Linked DNA regions of Homo sapiens: region 2 is linked to region 1. Evidence: promoter capture Hi-C in human tissues and cell types (Jung and others, 2019). All regions are on one chromosome and are shown on one strand. The core of a region is centred on a gene start or on the middle of the fragment in contact, and the rest is flanking DNA. Distances in the headings are between cores, read along the strand shown.

The links. Contacts are between HindIII fragments. The study calls those that stand out against the background at their distance.
Region 2: a fragment that was not itself captured here is called in contact with the fragment with the promoter of PRSS12 in region 1 in 2 of the 25 tissues and cell types used here (H1 embryonic stem cells and stomach).

The regions. Positions count from the first base shown.
Region 1 is chr4:118,350,660-118,356,351 of GRCh38, reverse strand. It overlaps PRSS12 (serine protease 12), which reads left to right and starts at 3,349. Exons shown (of 13, transcript NM_003619.4): 1 at 3,349-4,133. The coding sequence starts at 3,632. RefSeq lists silencers at 3,123-3,382, 3,413-3,492 and an enhancer at 2,759-3,604. The HindIII fragment of the contact is 10,666 bases long and covers 1-5,692 here.
Region 2 is chr4:118,309,089-118,314,184 of GRCh38, reverse strand. PRSS12 (serine protease 12) reads left to right here. Exons shown (of 13, transcript NM_003619.4): 7 at 788-984. Among named protein-coding and RNA genes, the nearest start is that of SNORA24, 32 kb to the right of the region's middle. The HindIII fragment of the contact is 7,240 bases long and covers 1-4,981 here.

The sequences.
Region 1 (5,692 bases), core at 2,100-4,599:
TCATGTATAACACAGTTGCCGTGGGAAAGCACAGATATGCAGATGTATGTGTACCGCACCCTCACCCCCAAGACTACCCACCCTCCCTGCCGTTGTGTGTGCAGGGAGACTCTTCCCTTCACTTCCCTAGGTTTCCAGTTGTTGTTCTGGATCTAGGCACTACCAGAACAGGGCTGTGTGGCAAAGGAGAGTTGAATTCTTGGGTCCCAAATCAATGACAGAGGATTGATGAAATCAGAGGTGATGGAGGTGACAGAGTCCCATTATGGGGGCCTCCCTGGGACTTCCAAGTGTTGAGATGAGGTGTGCCTGCAAGATGTCATTTGTTTCTTTTTGTCCCTTTCCTTGTTCCTTTGTTGCTGCTGAAAGGAAGGGAAAGCAGAGGATCAGCTGTGGGAGTTTTTTTTGTTTTTGTTTTTGTTTTTTTTTTTTTGGCAGGGTCTCACTCTGCTATCCAAGCTGGAGTGCAGTGGCGTGATCACATCTCACTGCAACCTCAATCTCCTGAGCTCAAGCAATTCTTCTGCCTCAGCCTCCTTGTAGTTAAAAAATGTTTTTTTAGAGAGACGGAGTCCCACTATGTTTCCCAGGCTGGTATTGAACTCCTGGGCTCAAGCAATCCTCCCACCTCGGGCTCCCAAGCTGCTGGGATTATAGGCTTAAGCCACTGCACATGACGAAGATTCTTACAGTTGTAACAAGATGGAATTGCCTCCCCTCTCCTTTGGCATATACTAGAGGGTGATGAAAATCCTGGGAGGGAGCTTTGACTAAGTAGCGCCTTAATAGAGGTAGAAGGAAAAGATTTCTTCCTGTAAATCCCTGTACTCTTAATTCCCCCCAACTCCACACACGCTGTGATGTGACAGGTAGAAGAGGGAGAAATGCATTTCAGAGATTGAACTGGGAATTGGAAATTCTAAACATCTGTATGTTGGTAGCAGCAAGGAGAAATGAAAGAAGAGAGGAAGAGAAAATATTAGCAGAGGAGGGGACTAACATGTCAAGAAGAGAGCTATTTAAGACACACTTTTCCTGTCAAATAGAAGGCAAAACCCAAGCCAAGGCCCTCAAATCATAATTACATAAATGCCCTTATATTTTCTAAGAAAAGTATGTTTTAAAACTTAAATGATGAAATCCGGACGTGGAATTTTCTGTGGGTAACTCCACTTTGTGTATGTCAATTTTATAGTCTGTTAAATGTTAAGTGGCCTCAGAGTACAGGGAAGTGGAGGAGAGGCCAGACTGCCTGAGGCCATGCTCCTCTCTGGAGCTCAGATCTAACAGTCTTCTGTTTTATTCACTTCTCTCTCATTATTTTCCTGTCTGCAAGGTATGTAGATGCATGGAAATTGGGTCTGCTTCTGGACCCCCAGGAAGCATGGAAGCAATGATTGTAGGGGTCAATGTGGGAAGGGGAGGGAGCAGGGTCCAAGCAGCCTCCCCACAGTCCTAAAATGAGCCTTCCCTGGGCCATCAGGTGTGTAGCCTAAGGTGGAAAAGCTAGTCAGAAAGAAAAAGGGCTGACCCCTGATAGAACTGTCACCTATTATTTCAAAAATCTGTGATTGATGAGCTCTGCCAACCCTCACTAAAATGAACAAATAGACTACTCCAGATATATATTTTATCTTTCATTGTCTTCCACAAGTATAGATTTAACTATGCTTTTGGAGCCAGAAAAGTATTAGTAAAAAAATAATGGGTAAAAACAACTGGAATGAAAACAACTTGAATAAAGATTTGACAAATACATCCCTGGACTCTTAACATCATTTCTTTTACCCAATTCTCTCTAAAGTAAAATCAAATATTTCATTAATAGGAGTGAAACAAAAAACAATAAAACGACCCACAAAATTAAAGATGGATTTTTTTTTTTTTTCTTGAGACAACGTCTCCCTCTGTCGCCCAGGCTGGAGTGCAGTGGCACGATCTCGGCTCACTGCAACCTCTGCTCCCAGGTTCAAGCGATTTTCCTGGCTCAGCCTCCCAAGTAGCTGGAATTACAGGCGTGCGCCAACACTCCCCCGGCTTTTTGTATTTTTAGTAAAGGCGGGTTTCATCATGTTGGCGACGCTGTTCTCGAACTCCTGGCCTCATGTGATCCGCCTGCCTGGGCGTCCCAAACTGCTGGGATTACAGGTGTGAGCCACCTCGCCCGGCTAAAGATGGCTTATTTAAAGCTAGTAGTGAATTAATTCAGTTCCTAATTGAAACCTAGGTTTTAACAATAAACATTTGAATTTTGTTCAAGTTTTCTTCAGGGTACATTATATTATGAGACAGCATTGCTTTTTCACAACGAAACGTGACCATGCCAGAAAATAAAATGTTGCCTTCTTTACGGGCTTCCTTCTCCTTGTCAAACTTTGGTAGCATAGTCAGAAACAACTGAAAGGCAAAATACTAAAACATACAGCTCCAGTAACTTTTTTTTTTTAAGATTCTAAGCCAACAGTTTTTTGGAGCCTGCGGGAGGGGGGCGAGGAGTGTTGAAAGGGCCCTACTAAGCTGAGGTCGAGCCAACAGTGAAGCTTCAAAATTGTCAGCAGGCAGAGTCTCTGGAGAGGCAAATGAATAGGCTTAACAGAAGTCCCTTGCCCTGCAAAAAACGAGGCAGGTGCTAGGGGGGTGGACTTTTTGGATAGGATGGAAACCGGGACGGATGAAGTCTTCTCTGGTTAGAGAGGAAATTTGGTATTAAGAGAGCCTCACTGAATCCCAATAATAACCAAACAACTGGTGTTGTCCAGGGCACCGGCTGGAAAGTGGGAGGCAGGAAGCAGAAAGGCTCAAGCTCCTTTCCCTGAGTCGGTTCAGGATTTTAATTTCAGCCAATGTTTATTGGGGCACGGTGTTAAGCACGGTGATATCAAGCTGAATAAAACGTGGTCTTGTCCTTGAAGAGCGTATAGTTCAGTGAAATGGCTTTAACATTCCTCGTGGGTTTTGATAACTTTTATCCTGGGAGTTGTCAGGGAAGAGCTGCATCTAAATCCATCCATACTTTGGTAAAGATTTCAAAACAGAGGAAGCAAGATACGGGGCGACGAGGTTGGAGGAGAGATGACGGCAGGGGCCGGTGCCAGATTTGGGAGCCGCCAACGCCGGGCTGTGCTGGTGCTGCATGCTGGCAAGGGGCAGCCAAGACCGTGCTCCGCGCGGGCACCCTCGGGCTCGGTCCCAGCAGCTGGCAGTGCCGTGCGGGCGGACTGCGGTGGGCCTGGCAGGGGCCGAGCGTAGGTCCGGAGCAGCTTGCGCGGCCGGCGCCCGCCCCCAGGGGGCAGAGTTCCCGGGCTCGTGCCTGCGCCGCTACCTGGGGCTCAGGCCCAACCGCTCCCCGCTGCGTCCGCGCCTTCTCTTTTCCGGTCCTCTCCGCCGGCCGGGGCTCGGCTGAGCTCCAGATTTCCCCACCCGCGGCCGCCGCCAGGGGACAGGAGCCGAGGCGCGGCAGGGCACCAGCGGCGGGAGGCAAGGTTGGGGAGGCGAGGGCGGTCCGCGTGCGGGGGCGGGAGGGGGCTGGGGGATTCGAGGGACGCGGCAGCCCCGCCCCCGCCCCCTCCTCTTCTCCGCTCCAAGCCCGAGAAGCTGGGGAGCATGGACCAGACCCCGCAGCGCTGGCACCATGACGCTCGCCCGCTTCGTGCTAGCCCTGATGTTAGGGGCGCTCCCCGAAGTGGTCGGCTTTGATTCTGTCCTCAATGATTCCCTCCACCACAGCCACCGCCATTCGCCCCCTGCGGGTCCGCACTACCCCTATTACCTTCCCACCCAGCAGCGGCCCCCGAGGACGCGTCCGCCGCCGCCTCTCCCGCGCTTCCCGCGCCCCCCGCGGGCGCTCCCTGCCCAGCGCCCGCACGCCCTCCAGGCCGGGCACACGCCCCGGCCGCACCCCTGGGGCTGCCCCGCCGGCGAGCCATGGGTCAGCGTGACGGACTTCGGCGCCCCGTGTCTGCGGTGGGCGGAGGTGCCACCCTTCCTGGAGCGGTCGCCCCCAGCGAGCTGGGCTCAGCTGCGAGGACAGCGCCACAACTTTTGTCGGAGCCCCGACGGCGCGGGCAGACCCTGGTGTTTCTACGGAGACGCCCGTGGCAAGGTGGACTGGGGCTACTGCGACTGCAGACACGGTTAGTGGCCTCGGGGCGGCCGCGGAAACTCCGGACGGGCTCGGAGCCAGTGAGGCTTGGGGCCGGCGTACAGGTCTCTTGGAAAAAGTGACGGGGTGTGTGGGGTTGTGGGCTTGCGTTTGCGGGCTGTGATGGTGGGCTGCAGCTGGGTTACCAGTAAGGTATACTGGTGCTGCAAATCTAAGCCAGCCAGGTGTGCTTGTGTGAAGGTTGTCAGGGGTGACAGTTCTATGCAAGGTGCTGAGCTCTGGGTTTCTGAATTTGCTCTGTCCTCTGGCCACTGTGTGTGTGTGTGCGCTCGTGTATTGGGTGACAGTGTGCTTTGGGCGTCTGTTCTCTAGATTAGCTTACGTTGAGTGGGTTACCATATTTACATTAAAGAGGCATAATTACTTGTTCTGGAAAGGGAAATGTTACATTAACGTGGCAATCAATAACCTTCCCTCCATTCTTTAGACTCCGATTTTTAAAAATGTGGTAAAATTTTGCCTTAATTTAGCTGTTGACCTCTGTTTTAAAAAGTATGGCAAAATTATGTGGCCAAAATCAGCCATATTCACATACTCCAGCTCAGTATGGTAAGTATCATCAGTGACTGGAAAAAAAGAAAGGGAAAAGAGATGGGAATACTACTATCTTGGTGAAGTAGCAACTTAATATAGTTATACACAGTTTTCCAGAGCCATTACTTAGCTTTATATGTTTTATCAGGATTAGTTGGTAACATCAGGAGATAAAGGTGGCAAAATGTTTTAGGTTTGTGGTAATAAAAGCATCACACTAATAAATTTAATGTAAATGAATAATCCAGCTTTGAACATTGCTTCATTTTGAATTGTTGGGATTTTGTTGAAATTAGGTTTTTTTTTTTGTTTAAAAACTGAGGAAGAAAAAATATCCTCAAAGTTTGAATTTCTTTTCAACAAAATATTTTTGGCAGCTTTCCATTCACACTGTGGGGCAAGGGTTTCCTGAATTGAGATTCTGAATCATATTGTACTTTGTACTTTTTGGAGGTAACTTGGAGGTTATCTGTCACAATGTCATTCATTTCCTGGAGAAATTTTATTTATCAGTACCTTCAATTGCATTAGTGCTTTGAGTTAAGGAAAAGTGATAGGAAGGTTAAGATCAATTATCCTTTATCCTCGGGAATGAAGTCATCGCTTTACTTGTGTTTCATGAACAGAATGCCAATGTAGCTATAAAAAATTTGAGGTGATGTCAAACAAAGAGTGCTAGCATTGTCTCGTTATTCACCATAAGAGATTATAGTAAAATCTTAGGTTTAGCAAACATTGACTTTTTTCATCTTCATATTATTCTTAGTTTTATAAATAGATAAGAGCAGAGAATTATTAGAGAATGAATGTGTAGGAGAGAATATACAACTTCTCTTTAAGTACATAAGCACAGACTCAAGAAAAGTAATTTAAAGTTAAAAAATGATAGTGATCTGTTGCTCTCTTTCTGACATAACTCAGCCTTATGTTTCAGACATGGAGAGTAACTTGTCCTTGGATTTCCTGCCACCTCACCTTCTTCAGTTGACTAGAAAT
Region 2 (5,096 bases), core at 112-2,611, 40 kb after region 1:
TGTCTTAAAGATTTTTAAGCTCCGTGATTTCTGGAGGTTTGGATTTTATGGAACAAAAGGAAATAAAATTGGGAGGATGAAAGAAGGTGCAGATTGACTTAATTTCTAATTTAAAAAATTTTTCAGATCTCTCCTATTTCTGCAGCATATATATTTATTATACGTTTAGGTTTTGTTTCTGTAGTGCAGTGTTACAAATACACTCAATTGGAACACAAATATAATTGATAAACATTTTAAAGTTGAATTTGTATACCTTATGAAAAGCTAAGAATATTATAATTCTGATTTTGATGGGCTGAAATCTAAATTTAATCATGGATTAGGTATAGTGCTTGAGCAATCACTGAACTAATCCACACTTTTTATTTTGAAAGAAGACCAAAGAGAAGCTGCTGAAATCAAATGAGTTCAGAGGGAGCATCAGAAGCAAAATGAGAAAAGTGTTCTCACTTTCTGGTCACAATTTCTATGGTCAGGAATTTGAGATTGATCTCTTTGCATTCTCTCTGATTGGTTTTGTAGACAAAACACAAGAATGAATGGGGAAAAAGTATTAATTTTTCATTTGTTATTCGTTGAAATAATCGAACATTTTTAAGGTGATTAAAACATGTGATGGGCTGGGCGAACATAGCTCTAAACTGCGTCCCCAAGGTAGGAGAAAGAACAGATACTTATCCTCTGAAGTCATGTCACTGAACTAAGTTGCTTGTGTTAAATGTTTTGTGGTTCCCTGAACCAAGAGACAGAAGTTCTATACACAGTGTTTATTCAATTGTCACAGATATGGTAAACAAGCATCTGCCAACCATTTTGAAGAAAGCACAGGGCCCATATGGTTGGATGACGTCAGCTGCTCAGGAAAGGAAACCAGATTTCTTCAGTGTTCCAGGCGACAGTGGGGAAGGCATGACTGCAGCCACCGCGAAGATGTTAGCATTGCCTGCTACCCTGGCGGCGAGGGACACAGGCTCTCTCTGGGTGAGGACTGGCTGCAGCTCTCAAGTTTCCATCATTCAGTAGCCATTGCACCTCTAACCACTGGCCTTGAATATGAAGTGTTTCTCATCTTTGGCTTTTTTTGGGGTCTATTTCCCATAACTGTCTAATTTTCAGTAATTTTTATGCAGAGAAAAATAATCTTTTGAGTCTGTGCGCCAACATTATGAAATTTCTACCCCTAAATTGTTTTTCTTTACTTAGAAAATTAAGTTCCTCACTAACAATGTTTACAATCATCTGTATCTGAAAAATGGAATAAAGAAGCTGCAGTATCTATTCCCCTTACTCCTCGGTCACTTATTCTGATTTTCATTTACCTTGAATTCTAGTGAGCTATTTGGGATAGGATTTAAAATAAGAATATTCTCCTCTCCCTGTCTCATGGTTCATTTCTTCTCTAGTCCTGAAGCCTTGTCGTTCGTTGGTCACCAACCATCCATTGCTCTTTTAAGTGTCTCAGTGGTCTTCTAAGTGGATTAATTAAAGTTAATAGCTCACCCATCTTTCTAGTGTAACTTGTTATTTTAGAAACCCATCAGGGACCTCTGTTACTCTTCATTTACATTTTTTTAGACTTTTTGGATAAAAGGTAACTAGCTCCTCTAACTGTATTGAAATAATTATAGATAAAGATCCTCTTGAGAGTAGATAGCAGTTAAACATTCTTGATAAATTTCTTAATGTCTGATGAGGAGGGCAGAATATATATGAATGAAAAATACAGAGGGAAATATTCAAAATACTTTGTTGTATGCTATCACAGCTTTATTATATATCTATCTGTGTGTATGTGTATGTGTGTGCGTGTGTGTGTGTGTGTATGTGTATGAATAGATGTTAAAATAGCCTTAGGTGGTCTTTACTTTTAACCTTGGATTGAATCAACTCCTTTGTATTCTCCTGTTTGGAGACTGTGAAGCTGAAATCTTCATGTTATAAAGTAACAACTTTTTGAACCTCAGAGTATTAACCATATTACATACTTTAAATTTGTCAGAGTCTGTGGCTGATTCCTCATTGTACTGTACACTGTGAGAGCTTGGTGACACTGCATTAATCTAGCATTATACCAAGTTGAAATACATGTTTTTATTCCATCTCTTGCAGGCCATATTTCCATTTTTCTTTCTTTTCATTTTGTTCTCCTTTTCCCTTGCCCCTTCTTTTGAAAGATTTGTGATCCTCCCAGGATTATGTGGTGGATGTGGTTGAGGGAGATAGAATTTGTTTGCTGGAGATGGATTCTCTCAGCCCCAGATAGCAGGTGTTGGAATCATGGGATGATCTACGCAGATATGCTCTGTGAGCTCCCAGTGATGAAATACTATGTGACCTGAGTTCTCTGTAGGCCTGTGTTGTTAAACACATCATATGGTTGGAATAACTAATCTTTTCTGTTCCCTTGAAAATCTTTTTAATTCTAGGACTCTAGATGTATTTTTAAAAAATTTAAAAACCTGAGGGTGATAATTATTAATAAAATATATGATCACTATTATGAATCTCTTTGGTTCTAATCTCAGTAATGTGTCTATTAACTAAAGTCATTTGTCTGAAGAACATTATATCTGAGCCAAATATCCTTTTGGGATAGAATCATATTACTATTTGTTCATTCATAGATCATTACTTCCACCTATTAAAAACTACTATATATTTAAAAGGGAAGCTTAGAGGAGGAGATAACAGGATAACAATATAAATAACAGCATTTAGGAAACAATGGAGATTTTTTACTTCTTTGGCACTGCAATGATGAGCTCTTGGACTACTGCTGTTTTCAGCTATTTGAAGGCTAATTTCTGGACCTTAACTTTATATGTCAAGGGAAACTTCTCAAAATTAGTTATAGCCCTGTAGACACTCTTTTGGGTCTGTGGTAGGTGAAATGCTCAAAAGCAGTATTCTAGATTAGTAAAAGTAATTCTAGTAAGAATACAGTTATGTGAGTTGGCAGAAATTTCTGGGATGGTAAAAATATGGATTTCTCGTTTTAATATTACATTAATTCTAAAGTTCAGAGTATTAAGTCCTGGCAAAGATTTCTTTCCCAGTGAGGTTGTTGCCTCTTACTCAATTTTACAGTATAAAATTAGGCTTAATTTAATTAATTAATTAATTAATTAATTGAGACAGAGTCTCACTCTGTCACCCAGGCTGGAGTGCAGTGGCGCAATCTCGGCTCACTGCAACCTCCACCTCCCGGATTCAAGCAATTCTCCTGCCTCAGCCTCCCAAGTATCTGGGATTACAGGTGCCTGCCACCACACCCAGCTAATATTTGTATTTTTAGTACAGATGGAGTTTTGCCATGTTGGCCAGGCTGGCCCCAAACTCCTGACCTCAGGTGATCTGCCTGCCTTGGCCTCCCAAAGTGCTGGGATTACAGGTGTGAGCCACTGAGCCTGGCCTAAAATTAGGCTTTTGCTGTGTATGTATGCATGTTAGAATTTATCTTTTTTCTAAAAGACAGTAGTATTTTATAAAAATAATGTATTATGTTACAGGAAAAATCAAAGAAAACTACTGAAAGCTTGAGATATATATTAAAGATAACTGTATACCAATATGATTGTTTAGCTTTTCCAAAAACTTTATATATTTAAGATTTTGGAAATAAAACATGCTATGTATTATTATTTCTGTAACAACACAAACTTAATAGTGACAACGTATGGATGGCATGACTTTTGTCATCCAGTTTCCCTTCAAGAATTAGGAATTTAATGATTTTGTAGAATGAATGGCTAAAATTAGGTTCAGAAATATTGTATGCATTATTTTTACAAAGCCATGCAAGTTATACTTTAAAAACACTTTATCATTTTTATTTTCAGAGTATATGAAAATGTGCCTGTAAAACTACCAGAATGGAACATGTAGATCTAATTTCATGTGCAAATGTTTTCTTAATTTTGAACCAAATATCCAAAAATATAAAAAGTGAAAACTTTAATAAAAGAATTTCATTTGTTTGATTTTGGTATCTGAGGATCACTTTTTCACTTTCTGTTCTTGCAAAGAACTCCCAAATTTCAGATGTATTAATGAGAAATATGAAGTTTCAATATTGTGTTTTATGACACAGCTAAAACTCCAAGTTTTTATCCAGCTGATAGTAAGCAGTGCATACATAGAGTTGGCACGCCATAAACATTTGTTGAGTTTGATTTTGCTCTGTGATTCCGCTATACTGCCTTGTCCCATGAAGTGAACATGATTAGGGATAGAGACTGGGGAGCCAACAACTCTTGGGGCAACACAGAAGGATGGAGAAGTAAAAAATGGGTCAGAAGAATAAAAATAGAGTGTGTCCATCTTGCTAACAATATTTTCTTTTAGTTAACCAATGTTGATTTAGTAACTTCACATATTGGTTTAAACATATATTAAATAATATATTGTCCATTACCTGCAGACTTCTACCTCCCTAGTTCTGCTAATAAGTTTACCATGCTTTATTGTATTCCCTAAATCCTTAACAGCAAATCTTGGCCCTGAAGCTGGAGACCCTTCTAGTAACTAGGTAATCAGATGTGTGAGTGTTAGCTTGCTTGGGTTGCTATAACAAAGTTCCACAGAGGTGACTTAAACACAGATGTTTATTGTTTCACAGTTTTGGGGGTTGGAGTCCACAATCAAATGTCAGTAGGGTTGGTTCCTTCAGAAAGAACTGTGAGGGAAGGGCTGTGTGAGAGAGAGAGATGCTCCAGGCCTCTCTCCTTAGCTTGTATATGGCAGTCCTCTCCCTGTGTCTCTTCACATCATCCTCTTCATGTCTAAATTTCTCAATTTTATGGGAATACCAACGTATTTGATTAGGGCTCACCCTAATGACCTCACAATTCAACCCATGCAAGTCACAGTGAGGAGTTTCGATTCAAAATCATAATTATTGGTGTGGTGATATGTGACACTTTACAAATCCCTTCATTTGTATTAACTTAGATAAATCTTAATTTGCTAGAGTTCAGTTTCTCAACTTTTAACTCAGTAATTTTTGTGACTTAATTCTTTCCCTTAAAATCAATAGAAAGCCTTAGATGGTAACTGTCCCTATTTACTGCTTTTTTTTTTCTTTTTCTTTTCTT